Linked DNA regions of Homo sapiens: regions 2, 3, 4, 5, 6 and 7 are each linked to region 1. Evidence: promoter capture Hi-C in 16 types of primary human blood cells and fetal thymus (Javierre and others, 2016). All regions are on one chromosome and are shown on one strand. Each heading gives the region's core, a stretch centred on a gene start or on the middle of the fragment in contact. The rest is flanking DNA. Distances are from core to core; before and after follow the strand shown. Region 1 holds the start of KLF3 (KLF transcription factor 3). Region 2 has its middle 3.2 kb from the start of RELL1. Region 3 overlaps TBC1D1 (TBC1 domain family member 1). Region 4 overlaps TBC1D1 (TBC1 domain family member 1). Region 5 overlaps TBC1D1 (TBC1 domain family member 1). Region 6 overlaps TBC1D1 (TBC1 domain family member 1). Region 7 overlaps TBC1D1 (TBC1 domain family member 1).

Region 1 (3,433 bases), core at 301-2,800:
TGGACTTGCGTTATTTAAAATATGCGATTTCACTACTTGAGGTTACCGAGTACTAATTTTACAATACTGTGTAGCTACATGAAGCGGCTCGAAATATACTATTATCACTCCGTTTTAAGCAGCACGATGTCTGGATGAAGCATCAAAGCGAGATGGGTCAACTTAAAGGGCCTTTAAAACATCTTGAAGCAATAATAAGCCATACACTGAAGCAGGGGCGGTTTTAAACATTACACAGAACTTAAAACAATCGAACGAATTCGTCCTTTGTTCTTTTTATTACATTAATTATTACATTAATACTGTTTAAAAAGAAACTCAAAAGGCATTAAACTTAGGTACCAATCTACACAAAGTCCTCGAAGGGGCCTGGCTTGGACCGAACGCGCTTTTGTGCCGCCCCGCTCGCTCGCAGCACCCTGAAGGCCACTGAGCTTAGGGCGCTAGGTCCCTAGAAGCGACTTGAAATGAGGGGGTCGCCAGGCCAGGCCCTCGCTCTGCAGGGGAGGATCCGACCAAAGTTTGCCAAGTTTCCAGGCAAGCCCAACTGCGCAAATGCCGCTTTTTAGCTCCAGCGGCAGGCCTGGCCCGTGGGAGTTTTGCCCCAGGGGTCTCCGGGCCTTCAAAGAAAAGTCCCACGAGGTGGGGGGCGCCGCCTGGGCCGCCGGCCAGGGGGACCCGTCGCCCCAGGGCACAAAGAAAGAGCGCGCCTACAGGGTGTCCCCTGACCCCGGCGACTCGGGGCCAGGGAGGCTCGGCGCGCCCCAGCGGCCGCTCTTCCCCTCCCGAACCCGCCCGGCCCACTCGCTCCTGCACCGCGGCCGCCTCGGCTCGGCTTTTCTCTTGCAGTGAGCTGAGTGCGCTCAGCCGAGGAGGGGCCGCGCCGCGCCGCGCCGGCCGCGGGGCCCAGCCCTTCCCGCCGCGCCCGGGGCCGCCCTTCCCGCTGGAGCCGGCTGATCGATGGCCCTGGCAGCCCGCGCCCCCCGCCTCGGCTCGCCCGCGAGCCCGGCTGTGTGTTTTGGAAGCAGCGCAGCGGGCCGCAGCCGTGTGACGCCCGGAGCGGGCAGCGCCGCCCTTCCTTCCCCCCGGGCTCGGGCGGCGGCGCGGCGGCTGGGCCGGGCGGGAGGGCTGGCGGGGCGCGGACTCCGGGGAGGAGGGCGCGGGGAGGGGACGCGGGCGGGGACGCGGGCGGGGGGCGGAGGCCGCGCCGCGCACGCCCAGCCCCACGGCCGCGCCGCGCCTCGTGGGACAGGTTGGGCCGGCGGGGCGGCGCCCGGCTCCGGGGAATAATGAGTGTCTGTCAGGCCGTCCCCGGGTGACTGGGCGGGGCGGGGCGGAGGCGGCGCGGGAGGCGGGGGTGGCGGGGGAAGGGCGCAGGGCGGGGTGCGTGTTTGCGCGAGTGACTCGGCCGACCCCTCCGGCGGCTGCCTCCACCCAAGTGGGTGGGGACCCGCCCAGCCCGGGCGGCCGCGGCGGCTCCCTCTCCCCTCCCTGACCCTCCCACCCCGGGTCCCAGCCTCTACTTACCCCGCCAGCCCCGGGAGGCTCGCAGAGCGAGCGGCGCCGGCGTCATGTGACTGCCCGGAGTTGGTGCCAGGAGCCAGAGGGGAGCCAGGAGCGGAGCCGCGCGGAGCCGGGGCCCGAGCCGGAGCGCAGCGAGAGCGCCCGCCGCACGCGCGCCCGTCCCCGTCCCCTGCGGCCGCCAACGCCGCCCGGACTGGAGCCCTGACATTGCTGCGCTCGGGGGGCTCCAGGCAGCCCGTATCGGGGCCTTTATTTCTCGTCGGCGGCGCCCTGCACCGCGCCTCGCAAAGTAAGTCCCGTCTCCCTCACCTCTGCTCCGCACCCTGGTCCCTGCCGCCCCCCTCCTCGGCCAGTCTGGTTTCATTTTTTCTCCTGGAGGGGGCCGCGGGGAATGGGTCGGGGGTGCAGCGCTGGTGTTGGGGGGGGCGCCTGCGGGCTTGGGAAAGTGTGGCGGCTACACTTAGCCGGGGTGGGGGCGGAGAGCAAGCAAGGAGGAGGGGGTCACGGGTTCGCGGTGAAAAGTGAGGGGTTGAGGCGAGGCACCGTGCGGACCCCGGGTGCGGGGGAGCGGGGCTGGCAGCGCCCGCCGCCGTCCCGGGCAGGGCGCGGGCGGGGGCTCACCTGTGTGGTCCCCGGCCTCCTCCCGCCCGCTCACGATTCCCTCCAAAGCCCCAGAAATCTCCGTGCTCTCCGCGTGTGGCAACGTTGTTTGGAGAAAGGTAGCGCCGCGGCCGCGCGCTCCTGCTCCTCCCCCTCCCGGTGCCCCCCCACCACCACCACAACCCAGGCTCCCGCGTCCTTCCCCTCCCCTCCCTCCGCCCGCGCCCCCCGCCGCCCCCCTCCCAGGACACGGCGCGCGGCCGCTCGCCCGCCACAGCAAACTTGGAGCAGTCTCCCGGCCCTCTGGAAAGAAACTTAGGGCAATTGGGATTGGAGGCAGCATCCCATTCTCGGTTCTGGAGCCCAGGAGCTGCCAGGGCGTCTGGATCCTCCGGGGCAGGAGAAATGAGCTGGTCGGGTTTGGAGAGTCTTCCTGGGGGCATGGAGAGAACCTGCCGCAGTGCCTGGAGCAAGGATTGCAGCGTGGCTGAAGGCGGAAGACGCCTTAGGCAACTGCCTGCAGCCGAGCCTGATGGGGACCCAGGGACAGATCCCTGGATCAGGACCCATGGGACCTACCTAACATTTCCAAGTGGCTTTCTTAGAGATGGCAGATGAGATCTGGAATTGTCATATTCATTTTTTTGGGCAGATAGCTACTGACAAGGAGAAGCACTTTTCTGGTTTAAATTTTATAGCAGTATACAATAATACTAGAAGAATGTGAATGAGACTTATTTTTAATAAGTCAAGTTAAACGGAAATTGGAAATTGCTCACCTTCTTGTATTTCACTAAAATAAACATTTTACACTTAACCACTGAATTTCTTACTCAGAATTTATGTTTCCATTAATATCACCCAAGACATTTTAAATATATTGATTATATTCTCACAAGAGTCTGGTATATGGGAAAAAGTATGAAGTGGTATTCTGACAAGTACCTGAAATGTGCCAGCAAAATCAAGTGGGGAATAGGCCAGTTGTTCATTATAGGTTTTTCCACACAGCAGTTTTGTGCTATCCTTTTCTGTACGAATTTGAGGAGCATTTTTATAAGAGAAATTCATCTGGATGATCTGCCTCACCCTAGGGAAGAAGACTTGCTTTTAGGGGAAAAAACAATCTGCTAGCATTAATATCTACAAATTTTTTGGAGTTAGTAATAGTGTTTAAGGAAAGTGTCCACGAGTGATTTCTTCTGGTTTGAAAAGAGGTATGTTAGTTGACCTTAGGCTGTTAATAGAAACCTGAAATTAGATGTTCGATTAAATTAAACTCCCTAGAGAAACTGGTATCTTCATTTCT
Region 2 (3,433 bases), core at 437-2,936, 970 kb before region 1:
CCTTTGAAGCCCAAGGAGGGCACTGCGCGTCCTGCGCTCAGTTGGCAGCGCATCCTACAGTCTGGCAGTCTTAGCAGGCAGCCTTTGCTAGTTTTATATCAACATAAACATTGAGAATGTGTGCGGAGGAAAGCGATCCATGTGGATTTCTAACTAAAACAGGAGAGAATCCCGGACCTAGAAATTAAACTATAAATTAGAAGTTGTAGCCAGAACCAGCTATAAAATTTGCAGGGCACAATGCAAAATGAAAAGGCAGGGCCTTCTGTTCAAAAATCGTTAAGAATTTCAAGATGGCAACAACACAACATTAAATCGATTGTGGAGCCCTCCTAAACACACAGTTGCACAGGTCACACACTTATAAAGCCAGCTCTGGTTTTGTAAGTTAGAATGTAACAAAATGCTTGAATCAAGAAATCTAATCAAAATGTAAAATGTCATTTCAAAATTGAATCATGTTTCACTCTTTTCCCACAGATTGGACTTAGTATTAAAAAGATGGGATCGTTTTTGGCTGGGCGCAGTAGCTCAAGCCTGTAATCCCAGCACTTTGGGAGGCCGAAGCAGGCAGATCACGAGGTCAGGAGATCGTAGACCATCCTGGCTAACACGGTGAAACCCCATCTGTACTAAAAATACAAAAAAGTAGCCAGGCGTGGTGGCGGGCGCCTGTAGTCCCAGCTACTCGGGAGGCTGAGGCAGGAGAATGGCGTGAACCCGGGAGGCGGAACTTGCAGTGAGCCGAGATTGTGCCACTGCACTGCAGCCTGGGCAACAGAGCGAGACTCCGTCTCAAAAGAAAAAAAGAAAAAAAAAAAAGAAAGACGGGATCATTTTTAACAACACATTTGAATTGTATATCTGTTATGGCTCTTCAAATATAAAAATCTAGTACTTAAGCCTTACCCATTATCTACCAGGCCCTTTGTTTTACAGATGAGAGATGGTTAAGTGATCTGCCTGACATATCTACTATGAGCCAGGGTTGAAACCCAGGGCTCTGAAATTTCTCTTCCTAAACTTTCCATAACACCTGCTTGACACACTCTCTATAAATGTCTTACTTTCACGTACCCCGTATACATGCATTTGTATGTCTTGTTAAAGGAATGAAGGAAGGGTAGGAGGAAGAGAGGGGGAGGGACGGAGGAAAGTGAAGAAGGGAAGGAGAGAGGAAAGAAAGAAAATCAAGCTTAAATTATTTTCCATATCCTTAACCCTACAGATTTATTCATACAATTTAAATAGCTTCTACATATGTATATCTAAAAATCCACTGTTTTATTTTAAAAGTAAGAACCCCAATGTAATGGAACTTCTATTCTCTATTATGAAGGGAATGTCATATTTCTTCTGAGGACATAAAATGGAAATCTTAAAACTAAGTTGTATTTCCATTTTTTCAGAAACAAAAGTAGAGTTTTAATAATTCTTAAGAATAACTGTCATTAATTAAAAACAATAATCCTCATTCTGCCCTTAGATTTAGCCCAATCCTATGGTGGGAACTCTTTTTGTATTCTTTCATCAATTCCTCACAATGATTTTATATTTAGGGAATCATTGTTAACACTCCTCACTTCAAAGCTGAGGGATTAGGGCATTTACCTGAGTCACATGGCCTCTCCCTGGCACCACCAGGATGCAAATCCAGGATCAGCTCCCTTGGGCCCACACTTGCAACCTCCTCTTGCACTATTCTGCCTCTGAAATGCAGAACTCCAGCCAACTAGCTCCTCTTTTGCAATCTAAAGTATTGTTCTCATATTCCTTCATTGCATGTTTAACCTAGCCTTTTTGAACTCTGTTTCAACAATTGCTTACATATTTTTCCTCAGTGAGAATAATTTATTGATTGATGGGAATGGATTAAAAATCAGAGTGTATAGGATCAAATTTACAAACATATACAATGTGATGTCCTTTCTGATTTTCATTGTTTTCAGTTTCTCTGTAAGGATTCAGTTAATCATTCCCCTTAGTAGAAACCTTTCCTGTTTTCCTCTGAACTGCTAAGCTGGTGATTTTCATCACCATCATTTAAATGCATAAGCCTCACTAGGCTGGTATTTACTCTAATTAATGTTGAACATGCTTCCGCAGAAGGCCTCTGTAGGATTTCTTTTGTGATTTAGATGTACTCATCTCTCTTTTTGAGAGGTTATATGCAGGAGATAAGCTTACATTTCTTTTTAAAAAATATGTCTGAAGGGGAATAAAATATTTTACACAATCTGGGGCTATTTTGATATGACAACAGATATGTGCTGTGTTCCTAGTACTGGGCTGAGCATGAGGGGTTGGAGGGGAGAGTCACTACAAGCTTAAGAAAAAGATTCTAACTTTGCTTTTAAAGTTTTAAGCCTACCTGGGAGAAAGGGAACTGTTGCATAAGTGAACAGAAATGGCTGGCCAGGCGCGGTGGCTCACGCCTGTAATCCCAGCACTTTGGGAGACTGAGGCAGGTGGATCACGAGGTCAGGAGATCGAGACCATCCTGGCTAACACGGTGAAACCCCGTCTCTACTAAAAATACAAAAAATTAGCCGGGCGTGGTGGCAGGCATCTGTAGTCCCAGCTACTTGGGAGGCTGAGGCAGGAGAATGGCGTGAACCCGGGAGGCGGAGCTTGCAGTGAGCCGAGATGGCGCCACTGCACTCCAGCCTGGGCAACAGAGCAAGACTCCAACTCAAAAAAAAAAAAAAAAGAAATGGCCAACAGCCCAGGGGTCAGGGGACACAGCCCTGCCAAAGATTCGCTCACTCTACTCTCTGCAGCTTCTTTTGGGTTGGTCTTCCAACCTATAAAATACAAGGATGATAGGATGATTTCTAAAGGTTCCCATCCAGCCCTAAGATTCTATACCATAATGAGTAATCAAATGATAGGGGTGCTAAGTCAGGCTAGACTGCAAGGTTTCTCAACACTGTGGACATTGTTGGTCCAGTAATTCTTTGTTGTGGGGGACTGTTGTGTGCACTGTAAGATGTCTAGCTACAATCCTTGACCTTTACTGACTACATGCCAGTAGCTCCCACCCCAGCTGTGACAACCAAACATATCTCCAGATATTACCAAATGACTCTAGGGAACAAAATCACACCCAGTTGATAACCACTGAGCTGGAGAAATCCCAAGAAGATCAAAAGAATTGTACTGGAAGCTCTTGAGCAAGGTTTCATGAAAGAGGTGCATCTTGAGCTGGGTCTTAAAGGACTGGGATTGATGGAGAGATGAGAAATGTGTATGAATGTATGTACAGTAAAAGAATTTGCATGGTACAGACTGCAGACTGCACAGTCATACATATGCATGAGGAAAAGAGGAGGATGGGTCAGCAATAACTGTGGGTCACAGCCAAGCATAACAGTCGACAAAAGGAGAATGGAGAGCTTCGATTGCCCAGGAATTTGTCATACTTTATAATAAA
Region 3 (3,433 bases), core at 237-2,736, 690 kb before region 1:
GGGCTGGGGAACACTGGTCTTTTGTTACTAGCAATCTAAAGCGCTTAGGAAGAAAAGCCCTGGGGGTGGGGGTCACCCCTGGAAAGTTGGGCGGGCTTTGTGTTAGCTCCAACTCTGGGGCTTTTGTGGAACCTCGGAGAGGGAGGAATTCTTAGATTTCTGAAAGTTGTGCGAAACGGACCCCAGAGGCCTGGAAAGGCGCGTCCCCAGCCTCCAGGGTTTCCTGCGCAGCCCTGGGCATCTCGGAAGGGGGCGACCCCAGCATGTCCCAACTTCCCGCCAGCAGCGGAGCGCGGGGGTGGGCGGGGTCGGCTGCGCGCCCTCCCCTCCTCTCCCCTCCTCCCCCCGCCCACCCCCTCCCCGCGCTCTCCCCTCCCACTTCCCTTTCTCTGCCTGGCCGCCCCGCGGGCGCGACCTCTCGGGGCAGTGACGAACTGGGTGGAGCCCGCCGCCGCCGCCGCCGCCGCCGGGGAGAGCGATGCCCCGGCCCCGCCGCTCCCCAAGCCCGCCCCCGGCCGCCCGCGGGCCCACGGGCCGGCGGCGGGAGTGAGCGGGAGCCGGCGGGCGAAGAGCCGCCGCCCGGCCCGCGATGTCACCATTGTTCAGCTGGGTGGCCAAGGTAGGCGGCGTCGGGCGGGCGCCCGTTACCGGAGCGGAGCGGCAGGCGCGGGGCTGGAACATTTGTAACCTTCGGGCCGGGGCTGGGCCGGGCCGCTGGAGGCCAGGCGCGGCGGGGGGCGAGCGGCGGGCGCGACCAGGTCGTTAGCCGCGCGTTTCTCATTCATTAGTCTCCCAGATCCCTGTGGGGAGGACGGGCGAGGTAGCGGCGCCCATTTCACAGTTGGGGAGACTGAGGCTGTACTCGGGGACCCCTGCGGGAGCCCGAACCCAGCAGGCGGCTCCTCCGGCCCCTGTCGCTCCCCGCGCCGCGGAGCTGCCGCTCGGTGCCTCCCCGGCGCGGGACCTCGCGGAAGTCGACCCCGCGTGTCTCCCTCGCGGGTGTCGCCCTCGTGTGTCTCCCTCGCAGAAGTCGGCTTGCGCTGGGCCGCCTGGACAGGGCGCCGAGGATGCCCAGAGGCTGGTGCCCACAAGGGGCGTCTGTCTTTCGTTTTTAACCCTCTGGTTTCAAAGGGCATGTTCTGAGGTCTGAGTTTTAAATAGAAGTTTTTAACTTTCCATTCCCACAAAGTTTTATTTTCAGAACATCAGCGCCTTCGAGATAACTGGGTGGTGCAAATCCAGGCCAGTTGCACTGTTGCTAACAGGAAGGCATAAGTGTAGATTTCCCGAGTTCCCACCAGTTCGAGAACACAGTAATAGCATCAATAGCATTCTTTTTATCCACTCCTGCAGTGCCAGGTGTCTGAATGTGTTTTAAAGGATGCGACCCTCGCCACCTTGAAAGGCTCGCTGGTCGTTAGGGCATCTTGCTGTCACCCCATGCACTCAGTCCCTTGGCCGGCGCCTTCCCAGGGCTTGTTTCCTGTGTATGGCTGGTTGAGTAATAAGCTCACAACTCGTTAGCCATACTGTGAGGCTTTACCAATTAATAATTTAATTAGGTGGTGGTTATGTCTTGAGTTATCATGCAATGCTTTTATAGTCTTATTTAATTACATTTTTATGAATACCTGTTTGTGAGCAGGTATGGCTTTGCCTGTGATTTAAGTGATACAAAATTGGAGACACAGAAACTAGATAACACTAGTTTTTAGATGGGCAAAAGTTTTTAGGTAGATTTTCTTACTAGGTAAATAACATTCCATTAGAATCACTTCCTGAAACATAGCTGGTGGTAAAATGAGATGACTTTCAAAAACGTTTTGAGTCATTAAAAAGTCATTTCAAAAACCATCACAGACTTTTAGGACGATTGTTAGCCTTCTCCGAGTGTCAGTACGTTGGAAAAGTTTATATAGAGGAAATGTAGGCTGGTAGCTTAATTTGGATTCTGAATCTTGTTATTTCAAAATTATTATTTTTGAGACAGAGTCTTACTCTTGTCACCTAGGCTGGAGTGCAGTGGTGCGATCTCAGTTCACTGCAACCCCCACCTACCAGGTTCAAGCGATTCTTGTGTCTCAGCCTCCCCAGTAGCTGGGATTACAGCTGTGCGCCACCACTCCCAGCTAATTTTTGTATTTTCAGTAGAGATGGGGTTTTGTCATATTGGCCCGGCAGGTCTCGAACTCCTGGGCTGAAGTAATGCCCCCACCTTGGCCTCCCAAAGTGCTGGGGTTACAGATGTGAGCCACCACACCCGCCCTCAAAATTATTATTTCGATTACAGGACAACAGCGGAAAAACTATTAAATGTTTTTGGAGCAAATTCATGTATACCTCTTAGCATACATTTTTAAAATGTGGTTATTTTATATTTCATTTCCTGTAGGTGGTGCATGCATTACAAATTATATCCCGAAATTGAATGATTTTTATAGATAACGTGTTATCCTGTGAAAGATTTTAGAATACGAAATTAGTCTTTGGAAGTTTATTTCTTGGAGTTATAGATTGTAAGAATGATGTTCTATGGAACTGATGTGGTTTACGGTGAAGAGGCAAGTCATTAACACACTTTACATTACAAACTAGGTAATATCCTAAAGACAAAGACAAAAGGCATAGATAATGTACACAATGTGAATAATCTTGAAGTTGTTATATTTGACTTCAGAATGCCCCTTCAGAAACACACAGCTGCACATGAGCACAGGCCTCACACAAACACCTGCACATCCAGTTACGCAGCTGACTTTCCTTTTCCTTTTTCATTTTGACCTTTGCAACTGCAGCTGAACACCTGGTGGGGAAGGAGAAGGGGTGGGTGTCGGTTGATTCACATGGATACCTGAGCACGAATGTGTTTTTCTTTTTTTTTGTTTTGAGACAGAGCTTCGCTCTTGTTGTCCAGGCTGGAGTGCAATGGCACAATCTTGGCTCACTGCAACCTCTGGCTCCTGGGTTCAAGTGATTCTCCTGCCTCAGCCTCCCGAGTAGCTGGGATTACAGGCTTGCGCCACCACCCCCGCTAATTTTGTATTTTTAAATAGAGACAGGGTTTCTCCATGTTGGTCAGGCTGGTCTTGAAGTCCCGACCTCAGGTGATCCACCTGCCTCGGCCTCCCAAAGTGCTGGGATTACAGGTGTGAGCCACCGCCCCCGGCCAAGCATGAATGTGTTTTTCTTGCACGATGCATTAGTATTGTGTGAATATTGAATGTGTAGAGTGGGCAATTTCATGATGTAGGAATAAAGCCAAAACGGGAGAGTTTTGTTTTAAAGAGATTATCTGTTTAAAGAAGAAAGAAAAACATAAGATGTACTTTTAAAAAAAATTGGACATGATCTGGAACATTAGGGCAGGTGTACATTGCATCAAGAATGTGGCTGGGCTTTATAGCAGTGTGATTTCTTGATTAGTCTTTCAGTG
Region 4 (3,433 bases), core at 596-3,095, 620 kb before region 1:
ACATGGGTATATTGCATACTGGTGGGGATTGGGCTTCTAGTGTACCCATCACCCAAATAGTGAACATTGTACCCAGTAGGTAATTTTTCAACCTTCACACCCCCTTTCATTCTCCCCCACTTGTGGGGAAATTAAATTTCTGAAACTTTATCCTGTAGCTGGCTCTATGATTATAATGAAACATTACTGTTTTATTTAAATAAGCAAGTATCTATGTCCTTCTTTTAATAACTTGCTTTCTAGACATTTAATCATATTTAAGCCTGGTCAGTTCAACTTTATAACTCCTGAAAAGTGGGTTTGGGTTTTGTGCTAGGGAGGCCAGCTTTCCCTTCTGCTACCAGAGGACTCTCTTTGGCAGTAGTGAGGGAGGGAGTGTTTGTGGAGGCCAGCTCCTTACCACAGGCAGGGTTTACAGTCCTCTGCCATCCCTCCTAGACATATGGCTTTCAGAATTTTTCTAACCTACAGTAAGAAGCACATTTAACATTGTGGCGTAGTTCACAAACACACATACCTACACATTCACACACAAAATTAAAAGTTCACAAAACAATATTTACTGTGAACAACATACAATACATACTGATATTTTGTTCTATTTTATTTTTAAAATGCTCATGGCAAACTACTCAGTTGTACCACCTACTAACATGATAGAGGGAGCAGTTTGAGAAACACTTCCTTAGATGGATGAGTGCTTCTCAAATTTCAGGTGCTCCGCCTCCCGGGTTCAGGCCATTCTCTTGCCTCAGCCTCCTGAGTAGCTGAGACTGGTTAAAGTGCAGATTCTGGTTCAGTAGGCAGGGTGGGGGGAGCCCTGAAATGCTGCATTTCTGACAAGCTCCAAGGCAATGCTGCTGCTCCTGGTCTGCAGACCGCCTCTGGGGAGTGAGGTCCTAGACAGCAGTCTTGTAAATGTGAGTTTCTGAGTTAAAATCCAGGGGAACATAGTGTCGTCCAGCCTCCATCTAATACACACTGATCCCACCCTGCAATTCATTGCAAGTGTGGGAAGGCTATTTGCTTATTTGTTGTGTACAGATGAACCACACACCGCCCCTTTCATGTAGGAAGTTACCTAGGAGGAGAGAGATGACAGATACAGAAACAGCCCCAGCATCAAGCAGAGTGTGGTAGGAGCCCAGAAGTTACAAATAAGAGACATTGGTAACTTCAGTGTCAGAAGAGCAAGGGGAAGGGAAGTTAGGTTTGGTCAGTGGAACCAGGGAAAAGGTGAGGGGTGAGGGGGCAGTGATGCTTTTGGACTAAATCTTGGTGTAGGAATTGTGCCTATGGAAGTGAACAGAGAAGAAGGCATTCTAGACAGACCAGTGTCAATAGACATACCATGAAGACATTCATGTCACTCAGTGGGCTTTCCAGTAAGCCTTATTGCTTGCTTTTTATTTTTCTCCAAAAGGCAGATCTAGGAATATATACATATTCATTCTTCAGGACTCGATAGTTGTGAAGATTCTTTTAAAAGGATTTAAAAGTCTGTCTAAGATTGCAATTTCTAGAGTCATTCTAAGAGAGATGCAACTTTTCAGAAGCTGCTTGTATGTATTGTATATGTTTAAGTGTACTTTACATCTTTCTTTTATTCATCTTGAATTGAGAAACTACTATATTCTATTTTATGTAATTGGATCCCTTCTAAAAAATTGATCACCTAGGAGTTGCAAAGAAACCAAATAGCCCTGAAACTTGACAAATGAAAATGGCCCTTTCAGTTGTCCAATTAAGCTAAGGGTTAGCTCTTTGATATGATTTGGAGGGATATTAGTAAGAATTTAGATCAACAGGTTTGCATGATGGAGATTGTGTTCTGTGATGTATTGTCTTAGAGAGACTTTTAAATCCTTAAAAGAATCTTCACAACTGTTGAGTCCTGAAGAATGAAAAACTTCAGTTATGAAAGTAATCAATATTTCATAGTATGTTGGGAATTTTTTCCTAATTCTTATACAATTAAATGTATGTAACTTCTCCCTTTGGTAAACACATTTCTTTTTTTTTTTTTTTCAAATTAAAACCCTCAATACTTGTTACCTAAAAGGCACTCAACTGTGTAAATGAACAGGTAGAATTCAGTCTCCAGTCCACTGTTAGATGCATTCATTCTTGTTTACTCTATTCCTGTTGATTTATTTTTTCTCTTCCAACAATTTCAATAGGAGCAAGCTGCTACAATTCCTCTTTTTGAATATTTTGAATATATTAAAAATATATTGGCCACTAGCCACGTCCTGGGTGCAGTGTTAAACATCAGTTTGCTTGAGTGGTAGTAGTTCATTCCTTTGAAAAAGCGTGCATCGTGAAGGCATACAACTTTAAAATATTGTCATGATTCTCAACAAATGTTTGAGCACTCACTCCATAGATTTATTGCATACCTAATAAAACAATAACTTATGTTTGTGTAACATTTTACAACATAAAAAGTACTTTTGGTTGTATCATCTTGCTTTGTTCTTGAAACTCAGATACATTTTTACTTTACCCTCTTACAGAAGAAATTGAGGTGCAGAAAGAAATTATTTGCCCTGAATTGCAGCAGTAAGTGCCTACAGAGTGATTTTCCATATTCTAAGAATATTGATACAGTTCTTAATCTCAAATTATGAAGTCGAATCTCAACAGTAGATCAGATTCGGAGAGAGCCTTAAAATGTGGGTTTAACATGAGTGAACACATGTGGCAAAGATAAAGAACTTGGTTAAGCAGTGGAGACAAGTTCTCCAGCACTCACACCCCTTAGAAGCTGCAGTAAACAGTCCTGTTTTCTAGAGAGAGGGCACTATTCATGGCGTTGTTCAGAACGTTACAGATTGTGGCTTATGTCCTTCACTCCTGCACTTGGCCAGTCTCCCCATTTCTCCAGCAAGCCAGCAGTGTGTCCTTGAGGAGCGGGCATTTATTTAATGGACCTTCATTTTCTTCTGCTTTTGGTGGTGGCTTCTAGATGGCATTATAATCAGAACACATACTTAGATACTGCAATGTTTGCCCGTGCAGGAACTAGAGATTTATAAATCCCACATATTCCCCATGGTGTGTCTGATCTGCTGTGTGTTTGCTCCCAGGAGCCATCTGTGTGTGAAAAGGAGGCCTTGCCCATCTCTGAGAGCTCCTTTAAGCTCCTCGGCTCCTCGGAGGACCTGTCCAGTGACTCGGAGAGTCATCTCCCAGAAGAGCCAGCTCCGCTGTCGCCCCAGCAGGCCTTCAGGAGGCGAGCAAACACCCTGAGTCACTTCCCCATCGAATGCCAGGAACCTCCACAACCTGCCCGGGGGTCCCCGGGGGTTTCGCAAAGGAAACTTATGAGGTATCACTCAGTGAGCACAGAGACGCCTCATGAACGAAAGTAAGATTTGTTTAAATTTGTTGCATAAATAGCTGGGGCATATCTGTGACTAGCCAGGTATGT
Region 5 (3,433 bases), core at 310-2,809, 600 kb before region 1:
ACATGTTTTCAAAATTCATTATGTCATAATACATACCAGTAATCCATTCTTTTTTAATGACTTATTAATATTCCGTTGTATAGAGACATCACATATGGTTTATCCTTTACCAGTCGAGAGGCATTTGGATTGTTTGCACTTTTGGCTGTTACGGATAATACCGCTGTGAACATTGATGTATGTGTTTTTGTGTGTTGAATGTGAGCTGGTGTGGAAACTCCTCCTCCAGGGGGGCCTTACCTGTGATTCTACCCACGGGGATGGTTAAGCCAGCAGGGATGGGAAGGGTTTGGTCCTGCTGGCCCTAGGCTTTCCTGCAGGCTGCCATGTGCCTTTCTTCTGCCTAGGCTGAAACGGAGGCTGCCCTGGTTTCTGGCACTGCCCTCATGAGTGTGTGGGAAGGCTGGGGGAAGCCAAGTCTCCATGGTGCCTCCATCAGGGACCCTGCAGCTGGGAGGCAGCCAGAGGGCCACAGGTTGGTAGCATTCACACAGAGCTACATTTCTTTTTTTTTTTTTTTTTGAGACAATCTTGCTCTGTCGCCCAGGCTGGAGTGCAGTGGTGCGATCTCCGCTCACTGCCACCTCCACCTCCCAGGTTCAAGGAATTCTCCTGCCTCAGCCTCCCAAGTAGCTGGGACTACAGGCGTGCGCTGCCATGCCCGGCTAATTTTTTGTGTTTTTAGTAGAGACGGGGTTTCACCACGTTGACCAGGATGGTCTTCATCTCCCGACCTCGCGATTCACCTGCCTCGGCCTCCCAAAAAGTGCTGGGATTACAGGCGTGAGCCACCATGCCCAGCCTACATTTCTTTTTTTTTTTTCTTTGAGATGGAGTCTTGCTCTGTCACCCAGGCTGGAGTGCAGGGGCACCATCTCTGCTCACTGCAACCTCCGCCTCCTGAGTTCAAGTGATTCTCCTGCCTCAGCCTCCGGAGTAGCTGGGATTACAGGCAACTGCCACCACACCTGGCTAATTTTTTTATTTTTATTTTTTAATAGAGACGGAGTTTTTCCATGTTGACCAGGCTGGTCTCGAACTCCTGACCTCAAGTGGCCTCAAGAGGCCAATCCGCCTTGGCCTCCCCAAGTGCTGGGATTATAGGTGTGAGCCACTGCACCCACCCAGCCCGTAGCTACATTTCTGTCAGCTGTTTGCAAACTGTGCCCCAGAATCCCCTGGAGGACTTGTAGAACCACCAGTTACTGGGTTACGCCCCCAAATGTCTGATGCTGGAGATGAATTATCTTGGGTGGAGCCCTCAAGCCGCAGCAGCTGATAAGCATGGGGACCTCCTATTCTGATAAAAATTCCAAAAAAGTCCTGAGTGATTAATAAACAGCACATTGAAAATTAGAAATGAGTTCTATGGCAGGGGATGAAACAGGCAACAAAGCCTATTTTCTTTGCAATGAAGCGCATCAGATATTAATAATAGCCATTGTAATTATCTTTATCATGTATTAAGCATTTTGTGTTTTTCACTTTTACACAATTAGATGATCCCCATAGGTATTACCGCCTTTTTTTTTTTTTTTTTTTGAGACAGAGTCTTGCTCTATCCCCCAGGCTGGAGTGCAGTGGCACGATCTTGGCTCACTGCAACCTCTACCTCCCAGGTTCAAGCTATTCTCATGCTTCACCCTCCTTAGTAGCTGGGATTACAGGCGCCTGCCACCAGACCCAGCTAATTTTTTGTATCTTTTTTAGTAGAGACAGGGTTTCGCCATGTTGGGCAGGCTGGTCTCGAACTCCTGACCTCAGGTGATCCGCCCACCTCGGCCTCCCAAAGTGCTGGGATTATAGGCGTGGGTCACCACAACTGGACTTACTGCCCATCTTTTAAGAGATGAGGACAGAAAGATTGAGTGACACAGTTATGTCTCCTGCAGCTCTTGGTTCACATAGCCAGGATTCGTATCAATCTATTTAGCTCTAAATCTAGTCTCTTAATCACAGTAATGAACCGTTGACAGTTTTACGAGTAAATTATCAAGAGTTTTGATAGGTTTGCTCACTTAAATTAGTGCTTGTACAGTAATGGGCTGTGTTAGTGTGAAGGAATGTATCTTATGTTGGAAGTACTCTAGAATTAAATGTTAACTCTTGCTAATAAAGCATACATTTGGGGCATTATTAGCAACTTTTTTTTTTTTTTTTTAGCAAAATTAGAGGCTTCCTAGTTGAGTGGTTTATGTTATTTATATTTATTTATTTGTTTGTTTGTGACAGGGTCTTGCTCTGTCACCCAGGCTGGAGTACAGTAAGTAGCACAATCATAGCTCACTGCAGCCTCGACCTCTTGGGCTCAAGCAGTCCCCTGCCTCAGCCTCCTAAGTGCCTGGGACCACAGGTGCGCATCACCACGCCCTGCTAAATGTTTACAGTTTTTGTAGAGACAGGGTCTCACCATGTTGCCCAGGCTGGTCTTGAACTCTTGAATTAAAGCAATCCTCTTGCTTCAGACTCCCAACATGCTGGGATTACAGGTTGTGCCACTGCGCCAGGCCTCCATGTATTTGAATGAAAGAGCAGACATCTCCTGGAGGTGGCAAAGCTATGCATGCCCCCCCTGGAGGGGAGCTGGGGGCTCTGGGGTTACAGTGATGGCACATTCAGGGAGCTCTCCGCTTTGTGAGATCCTGAGATAAAGCCAAAGGATGCATTAAACTGCTTCTAAATGAACTTTTTCCAAGTGAATTTGTTATATCACTTCTATATAAATGAAAATATTTGCAGCATGAGTACTAACAAGATTTTTTTTTTCTTTTACCCCGATGGAGTCTCGCTCTGTCGCCGGGCTGGAGTGCAGTGGTGCAATCTTGGCTCACTGCAACCTCCGCCTCCTGGGTTCAAGCGATTCTCCTGCCTCAGCCTCCCGAGTAGCTGGGATTACAGGTGCGCACCACCACGCCCAGCTAATTTTTGTATTTTTAGTAAAGATGGGGTTTCACCATGTTAACCAGGATGGTCTCTATCTCTTGACTTTGTGATCTGCCCGCCTCGGCCTCCCAAAGTGCTGGGATTACAGGTGTGAGCCACGCTCCCGGCCAAGATTTTAAACATTATTTACCAAAGTAGGAACGTGGTAATTATGGTCTTATATAATTCTGAAAATGATTTCTAGTACCAAACTATGAATTTTATACTTGAAAGAATGATGGGTTTTTCACAGAAAGTTGAAGTTATTATGGTTTGTTTCCTGTTCAGGTGTTTTTGCTGGAGAATGTTCGATGAACAGCAGTTCTGGTGATAAGTTATGGATGTACACAGCTGGTGTGGTTTTTAGGATTTTATTTTGCAGCAGCATCTTCCTCAAACAGTTGCCAGGGGACGGCTTTCCTTCTTCTTACTGGTACCAGCCTTTCTCTTGCAGACAAGGCAGTATGGGAGGGTTGGGAGACAAAACAGAAGCTGTTGGTTTCTTCAGCCT
Region 6 (3,433 bases), core at 338-2,837, 580 kb before region 1:
GGGGAGGCAAGGCCCAGCTTCCCAGACACAGCCCTCAGGTGCTCATCCTGGTGGCACTGACCAGGGGCCATGGTGGGCTTTTCCACCCCACCATGTCTCATAAAATTACAAGAACCACAGTTGAAAATCAGTGTTACAGAAATGGTAATAGGATAGGGCAAACTGTTACAAAGATCAGCACTTAAGATTCTGGCTGAGGCGGAATATTTGTTTCTCTTTAGTTTTGTTGTCTTTAATCAAGAACTGAGAGCCCTGACTTTCAGCTCCTCAAAAAATACAGCTTCCTTCCCCTTGCAGATGCAAAAACAAACGCCACTTCTTTCCAAGCATAATTTTCTCCCATGCGTTATCTCCTGTCTACAGCTTTTTCTTGATCCTTCTCCAGCTCCTGTAGACCTCCCATTTAGAGCCACCAGCCGCCCATCACTGGGGCTGCGCAGAGCTCTTGGTGCTCTGTGCCCTGGGCTCGCCCACCCAGGCCTGTTCTCTGTGCCTCTTCCTGGTTCTCTTCCCTGGACTTCCCACTGCCGTGTGGTCTTCAGTGCTCCTCTGAGCTGTTGTCATGACCTCTAACCAGACTGAGTCAGGACTTTTTTCTTCCTCATCTCTAAGTCATCCTTACACAGCCTTGGAAGTTTACCCTAAATGGCTATTTTGGGAGGGAGTGGGGATAAAGATCTGCAGGCCTCTTGCTCCTGGTCCTTGTTTCTGCTTATCTTGGCTTCTGTTTTTAAGTGTGTGTGCACCTCTTTCCTCATCACACCCTTCCCCTCCGTATGGCTCCCATCTCAGGCAGAGTTAGGTGCTCTGTTCTGTGTCCATAGCTCTTTTTCGAGCCCTTCTTCTCACTGTTTGGTAGTGGCCTTTCATGTGTGTCTGATCCACTAGGCTGTGCACTCCCTGCCTGCCAGGATATGGTTAAAGTGCTAAAGAATGTATATATGAGATCACTTTTGCTTAAAAAACCCCCAATCTTCTGGAATTCCCAATTTCTAACCAATTAATATGTGGATTGACTAGACCTTAAGCAACCAAGAGTCAGCCAGCCTTGTCTTCTATATTCAGGCGCATACTATCTGGTCGTTAGACAAAATGGGTCATTATCAGTGATGAGTTAATAATTACCTGCACATCTTGTTTATGCTGGTTCTTTACCTAAAGTGGCTCCCATCAATTAAACCTGTATGGATTTTACCTGTTCTTCCAGAACCACCCCACTTTCCACAAAAACTGACAACAATGATGGTAAGAAGAATGGTAGTTGACATTTTATTAAATGTTTACTGTGTGCAGGCTTGTTTTTTTCCACACATTTACCTACTTAATGCTCACAATAATCCTATGAACTAGTCAGTTTTATGCAGATTTCGCAGATTAGGAAACTAAGGTGGCAAGTGATCAGATAACCTGTTTGAGGTTGAGTAGCTAGATCATGGTAGAGCCAGGTTCAATCCCAGATACCTGGCTCCAGGGCCCATGCTCTTGACCTTATAAACGGCTGAAATTCATCTTTTTTTGCTGAACTTCCAGAACACTTTCTTTGTATTTCCCTTATTTTGGTAGTCTTGTACTTCTCTGCTACCCTGATTCATACTTGGATTTCTAGCAGCATGCCTGGCATGAGGCAACAACTTAACAGTATTTCTTTATACCAAATGAATGTTGTCTTTTTTTTTTTTTTTTTTCTTGAGACAGAGTCTCGCTCTGTCGCCCAGGCTAGAGTGCAGTGGCACTATCTTGGCTCACTGCAAGCTCCGCCTCCCGGGTTCATGCCATTCTCCTGCCTCAGCCTCCCAAGTAGCTGGGACTATAGGCGCCTGCCATGGCGCCCGGCTAATTTTTTGTATTAGTAGAGACGGGGTTTCACCGTGTTAGCCAGGATGGTCTCGATCTCCTGACCTCATGATCTGCCCGCCTCGGCCTCCCAAAGTGCTGGGATTACAGGTGTGAGCCACCATGCCCGGCCATGAATGTTGTCTTTAAAAAATTCTGTTTTCCTCTAGCTAGACTGTCATATAATGCAACTGTAGGAAATAATCAGGTTCTCTTTGGAGTATTTTCCATAAAAGATCCACAGAAGTCATGGCAGGGTTGAGAGTGGACTTGGGCAAATGAATCTGTTCATTCATTGAATATTCCATGCATATCTGCTGTTTCCCAGGCATGGGATATGGCAGGGAACACAGAAATCTCTGCCTCCTGGGCTCTGCTTTCTGTTGTAGTAGAGGTAAAGCTGCTCATACTTTGTAAACAATATGACAACATTAAGTCTACATGGTCATTTTACTTTGTTTTTTTCTAAGAAATTTTGAGCTGTTCGTAACAACAGACGCTGCAGATGTTAATCCCGTTGTTGTTAACTTTTCTCCAGAGATTTAATGTTCAATTTTCTCCTTTCCAGAATCGATTTATGTTGTTCAAACAGAGGTTTGAGAATAACTGGAATTTTTTTAACTTCTTTTTTTTTTTTCGCATGGAGTTCAGAATTTTCAAGAGGGATGAAGAGAGTTATAAAATGCTCTATGGTGGGTAACACACAGAAAAAGCCAGAAAATTGGAGAATAAGGATCTGTCTACTCGTTTCCTTCTAGAGCTCCTCTTTCTTACAGGGCACTTAACATGTGATTTAATGTCGTGTCTTTAAAAGGAGGAGAACTGCAGTTCAGAACTTAATGTCAGTGCTTTGTGAAAGTGCAAGAAAGAAGCCCTGTATTCTGCACTTGAGAGAGCCAGATACTGGGCAGATAGGAGGTGGTGTGCACGTTGCTTTTTGTCTTTCTCGATCATGGCATTGATTCTGTTCATAACAATGATGCAATGTCATCCTCTTCCCCACACATTTGTGTGCAGATAGAAAGAATGCAACAGCACAGAGTTGTTGGGGAATAATTTGGCATCTAAAATATCGACATACCAGCATAGATCATATTTATGACTCTGTTGGGAGTGTCACAGCAATGATTTAATAGGAGGCAGTTGTCTCCAAGGCCTCCTGAATTATGACTGGTTTTAAAATTCTTAGAACCCATTGGAGGCTATTGTTTCTGAAAGGCTACATAATTTAAGTGCTCCACATCCGTCATTATAGGAGATGTCAGAATAGTAAAATCTAATCCTGGACTAAGTTGTTATCGCAGCCCTTTGGTTTGGTGGCTTTGCCGACTTTATAAATATGCCTGTCAGTGCCTGTGGTCTCTACAGTTGGGCAGTCGGCGGTGAATATCATTTCTCACATTTTACACTGGGGGACTGGAACCCAGAAGGCATATGTTTTCCCAAGAGGCACCAACACAGTTGGCCCATGAGGTAGAGCAGCCCCTCCTTCGGCTCAGCCTCCGCTGCACTGAGCCAAGCCAAGCTTCCTACACTGGCCTCTGTGCAGCTGTCTCTCAGCAAGAATGCAAGTCGGGGAGAGAAGCCGGATCCCTGGGAT
Region 7 (3,433 bases), core at 256-2,755, 550 kb before region 1:
AAAGACTGATTGATATTATGATCCAGCTTCTAAAGATTTTGCTGCTTAATCTGAAGCACATTGGATTTCTGGTTCAATAGGCTTTCTTTTTTTGTTTTTATTATTACAACTAATATGTATTCTTTTCACAGGGCGAACCTTTCCTACACACCCATACTTCTCTGCCCAGCTTGGAGCAGGACAGCTATCGCTTTACAACATTTTGAAGGCCTACTCACTTCTAGACCAGGAAGTGGGATATTGCCAAGGTCTCAGCTTTGTAGCAGGCATTTTGCTTCTTCATATGAGTGAGGAAGAGGCGTTTAAAATGCTCAAGTTTCTGATGTTTGACATGGGGCTGCGGAAACAGTATCGGCCAGACATGATTATTTTACAGGTATAGAGTGTTCCTTATGTCTTTAATACAACAAAATGCTAAGAATGTTTCTTATCCCTCTCCAGATGTGCCTCAGGAGCTTTTTCACCGTCAGGTAACATTGTAATAGCTGTCACTGCTGATAAAGGACTCTGTGCTAGGCATTATTCCAAGCGCTTCATCTGCACTTCCCTCTAAGGAAGACACTGTTCATCGTCTCAATTTGTAGATTGGAAAACTGAGTCTCCAAGAGATTATAAATTGGGCCCAGTCACACAGCTAGCAAGTGTCAGAGCTGGACTGGAAACCCAGGCCTCTCTGACTCTAGGGCCTTCCCTCTTGCCCCCATCAGCCATCAGATGATCTCAGACCTACCTCCCAGCCTCTGCATCTGCTCTTCCTCTGCCTCACCCCCACCCTTGTCATCTCAGGTTCAGCTCAAATATCACATCCTGGGAGAAGCTCATTCTGACTACCCTGATGTTGTGTTCCCCACTTCCACCTTGGGCACACTGCGTCACGTTATCCTGGCTGATTTCTTTTGCACAACACAGCCACTGCCAGAAATGATCTTGTTTCCATAATCATCTCCCTGTCTATTTTCTGATTTTTCATAGCCTGTGAACTTTAGGAGAGGGAAGGGATCTTACGGGTCTTGGAGCCGAGTTCCTAGTTTCTGAAACAGTGCGTGGGTTGAAGTAGGCACCCCATAAGTATTTGTTGAATGAACAATTCTGTCAGAGAAAACCAAACACAGTAGCGTATTGCAAATACCACGTGCTGCTCTTGCTGCCTGTCAGAGGGAAAACTCTGGATCCTGCTTCAGGAATATTCCTAAATGTTGCAGCACATGTTGATATGTTCATTTACTACCAGTAAGATACTATGCCTTCAGAGCTCTAGAGAGTATCCTGGGAGGGAATACATTAGAGCCAAGGACTTGCTTTGAGAGCACCAAATTATGTGATTCAAAATCTTTTCACCTTGACCTGTGAACATGGACCACGTGAATGCAAATATCATAGAAGGAACTCATTCACTGAAAGATTTTGACCACATAACACTTTCCACATGTACTGTGAGGTTCTTCCTACATTCCCTTTATTAACTTTAAAGACAGTGGTCACCAGGCAGTGGAATTTTTGAGTTTTCTATAATTTATGTAACACACAACTCTTTTGGGGTGGTGCCTTTGGTTGATTAGACAGTCTTCGATATGGGAGAGCCACAGCTGGTGCTTATGGGATTATATTATCTGAGCCTCTGAAAACGGTTTTGTTTTCTTTCTCTCAGTTTAGATAGGACATATCCAACTTGGTGGATCTTAGCGGATTCTGACCCTCTGTAGGTTGTTGTTTCTTTAGGCTCAGGCCGTGGCACTGCTCAGATCTGGGCTGGCTCTCGGGCCTCTGTGAGCCTGTAACTCTTGGTGGCACTACTAGGAACTGGCATGAGATTTCTGCCAGAATCATGTCATTCTGTGAAGTTGGAGTTCCACTTTAGTTGGAAAAAGTTTTTATTTCATCTTAAGATGCACACTTGTCTTCTTGTTTTAACTTGCCAGGTATCTGGATATTCCATATATTATACACCAAAAGAAATTATGCTTCTCCTGCCTATTGAGTAATTTCAGGGGTCCAGAGGGAACTTGCTGAGTGAACATGTACAATGGATTCCTATGGAATCATAAGATGCCCCTAATTCAGTCTTAGTAAAGAGACTGGCTTCTTATTTCTAATTCCTCCAGGCTTGAGTTGTGCAAAGAGTATGTATTTGTAAGAGAATTTATGAAATGTTTGCACAAGACAGATTTTTAGATCTTCTTAGTGGAGGAATACAAGGGAACAATAAAAAGGAAGTGGCAGTAGAAGACCCAGCGTTAGCGTCCTGGGCCTACACCCAGCCAGTGCCTGGCACCAGCAGGCACTTGGGAAGCACTTGTTGGATGAATTAGTAGCTGAGCTCAGTGGATCGCAAGCCAAATCGAATGTTTAAAGTTCTAGTAAGTCTTCTCTTACACCCACCCTGTGAGCAGTAGGCATAACTTTATTGCTGTGGCAGATCCCTAATTCTCAGCCCTTGTGGCTGTCTTCCTGCAGATCCAGATGTACCAGCTCTCGAGGTTGCTTCATGATTACCACAGAGACCTCTACAATCACCTGGAGGAGCACGAGATCGGCCCCAGCCTCTACGCTGCCCCCTGGTTCCTCACCATGTTTGCCTCACAGTTCCCGCTGGGATTCGTAGCCAGAGTCTTTGGTGAGCATTAGTAAATCTGTTTGCCAGAACCAGCCTTCTCTTATTAGAGGGGAAACATTTCCTGTCTCTCCGTGGTGATTCTTATTTTTATACCTGTAGCTCTTACCAGAACAGGGTATTGTTTGATAGTCTAAGATTAGTCAGGGGTGGGTTTTGTGACTTTGGAGTCCTCCTTAACTTCTGATAATCACGGGGCTTCCCTAGATGCCTTCATCTTGTGGGATGTGGATCCGATCCGTGTAGATCCGATCGCTCACCATGAGGGTCTCCCTAGAGCAGACATTTGGAGGACTTGGCTGAGGAGCCACAGGTGTATGTTTCTCATGAATTGCCTTCCTCAGCCACTCTGGGTTGTGAGTATTGACTGATGCTGACTGTGGGCCTCTGGGCCCTTTCTAGATTCCCTTGGCATCTCTTCCTCCCCTTTCTCTTCTTGCCCTGCCCTTGGCTCTACACTTTCTCCCAAGTCACTGTCTTGGAGACCAGTGTCAGGACCTTGAGTAACACCTCCGTGTGGATGGCTCGCTCTCCCCGCTCAGCCTTGACACTTCATGAAGGCCTCTTGCCCCTGAGCCCACATGTCACAGCCACTGCCACTCCCGTGCCCCCGCTGTTAACCTTGGGTGGTTCACATGTAAAACCTGCCTTTATATTCTTGATTTACTTTTTGAGAACATTGTCAAAGTTAGGTGAGTGTTCATACACAAAGCCTTCAACCTGCCTTCATATGCAGGGATAGGGCTGTCCACGTGCGCATCAGGAACCGAGTGGAATGTTGTGAGCATGGTCAGTTCGGGCACAGTTTGTTTTCCCTACTGC

The links. Contacts are between HindIII fragments. The CHiCAGO score rates a contact against its expected background, and 5 or more counts as called.
Region 2: a fragment that was not itself captured here is called in contact with the fragment with the promoter of KLF3 in region 1 in 1 of 17 cell types (fetal thymus); the score reaches 5.6 in fetal thymus.
Region 3: a contact is called between a fragment that was not itself captured here and the fragment with the promoter of KLF3 in region 1, in 1 of 17 cell types (fetal thymus). The highest score is 9.0, in fetal thymus.
Region 4: a fragment that was not itself captured here is called in contact with the fragment with the promoter of KLF3 in region 1 in 3 of 17 cell types (M1 macrophages, fetal thymus and M2 macrophages); the score reaches 5.6 in M1 macrophages.
Region 5: a contact is called between a fragment that was not itself captured here and the fragment with the promoter of KLF3 in region 1, in 9 of 17 cell types (endothelial precursors, fetal thymus, M2 macrophages and 6 more). The highest score is 12.3, in endothelial precursors.
Region 6: a fragment that was not itself captured here is called in contact with the fragment with the promoter of KLF3 in region 1 in 3 of 17 cell types (M2 macrophages, endothelial precursors and M0 macrophages); the score reaches 7.5 in M2 macrophages.
Region 7: a fragment that was not itself captured here is called in contact with the fragment with the promoter of KLF3 in region 1 in 2 of 17 cell types (M1 macrophages and M2 macrophages); the score reaches 5.2 in M1 macrophages.

The regions. Positions count from the first base shown.
Region 1 is chr4:38,662,649-38,666,081 of GRCh38, forward strand. It overlaps KLF3 (KLF transcription factor 3), which reads left to right and starts at 1,551. Exons shown (of 6, transcript NM_016531.6): 1 at 1,551-1,813. KLF3-AS1 (KLF3 antisense RNA 1) reads right to left here and starts at 2,245. Exons shown (of 16, transcript NR_171644.1): 1 at 2,146-2,245. RefSeq lists silencers at 452-971, 1,002-1,271, 1,282-1,881, 1,942-2,291 and a promoter at 1,011-1,813. The HindIII fragment of the contact is 3,872 bases long and covers 1-3,433 here.
Region 2 is chr4:37,687,880-37,691,312 of GRCh38, forward strand. No RefSeq gene overlaps it. Among named protein-coding and RNA genes, the nearest start is that of RELL1, 3.2 kb to the left of the region's middle. The HindIII fragment of the contact is 987 bases long and covers 1,194-2,180 here.
Region 3 is chr4:37,976,911-37,980,343 of GRCh38, forward strand. The region is part of intron 2 of TBC1D1 (TBC1 domain family member 1); the gene reads left to right. Among named protein-coding and RNA genes, the nearest start is that of PTTG2, 18 kb to the left of the region's middle. RefSeq lists silencers at 279-348, 419-538, 659-708, 729-1,028. The HindIII fragment of the contact is 3,989 bases long and covers 1-3,433 here.
Region 4 is chr4:38,046,529-38,049,961 of GRCh38, forward strand. TBC1D1 (TBC1 domain family member 1) reads left to right here. Exons shown (of 22, transcript NM_001396959.1): 11 at 3,090-3,370. Among named protein-coding and RNA genes, the nearest start is that of PTTG2, 88 kb to the left of the region's middle. The HindIII fragment of the contact is 9,326 bases long and covers 1-3,433 here.
Region 5 is chr4:38,064,122-38,067,554 of GRCh38, forward strand. The region is part of intron 14 of TBC1D1 (TBC1 domain family member 1); the gene reads left to right. Among named protein-coding and RNA genes, the nearest start is that of PTTG2, 110 kb to the left of the region's middle. RefSeq lists an enhancer at 3,367-3,433. The HindIII fragment of the contact is 8,274 bases long and covers 1-3,433 here.
Region 6 is chr4:38,082,268-38,085,700 of GRCh38, forward strand. The region is part of intron 14 of TBC1D1 (TBC1 domain family member 1); the gene reads left to right. Among named protein-coding and RNA genes, the nearest start is that of PTTG2, 120 kb to the left of the region's middle. The HindIII fragment of the contact is 3,537 bases long and covers 1-3,356 here.
Region 7 is chr4:38,115,579-38,119,011 of GRCh38, forward strand. It overlaps TBC1D1 (TBC1 domain family member 1), which reads left to right. Exons shown (of 22, transcript NM_001396959.1): 18 at 132-376; 19 at 2,455-2,614. Among named protein-coding and RNA genes, the nearest start is that of PTTG2, 160 kb to the left of the region's middle. RefSeq lists enhancers at 2,612-3,113, 2,745-2,914. The HindIII fragment of the contact is 5,058 bases long and covers 1-3,433 here.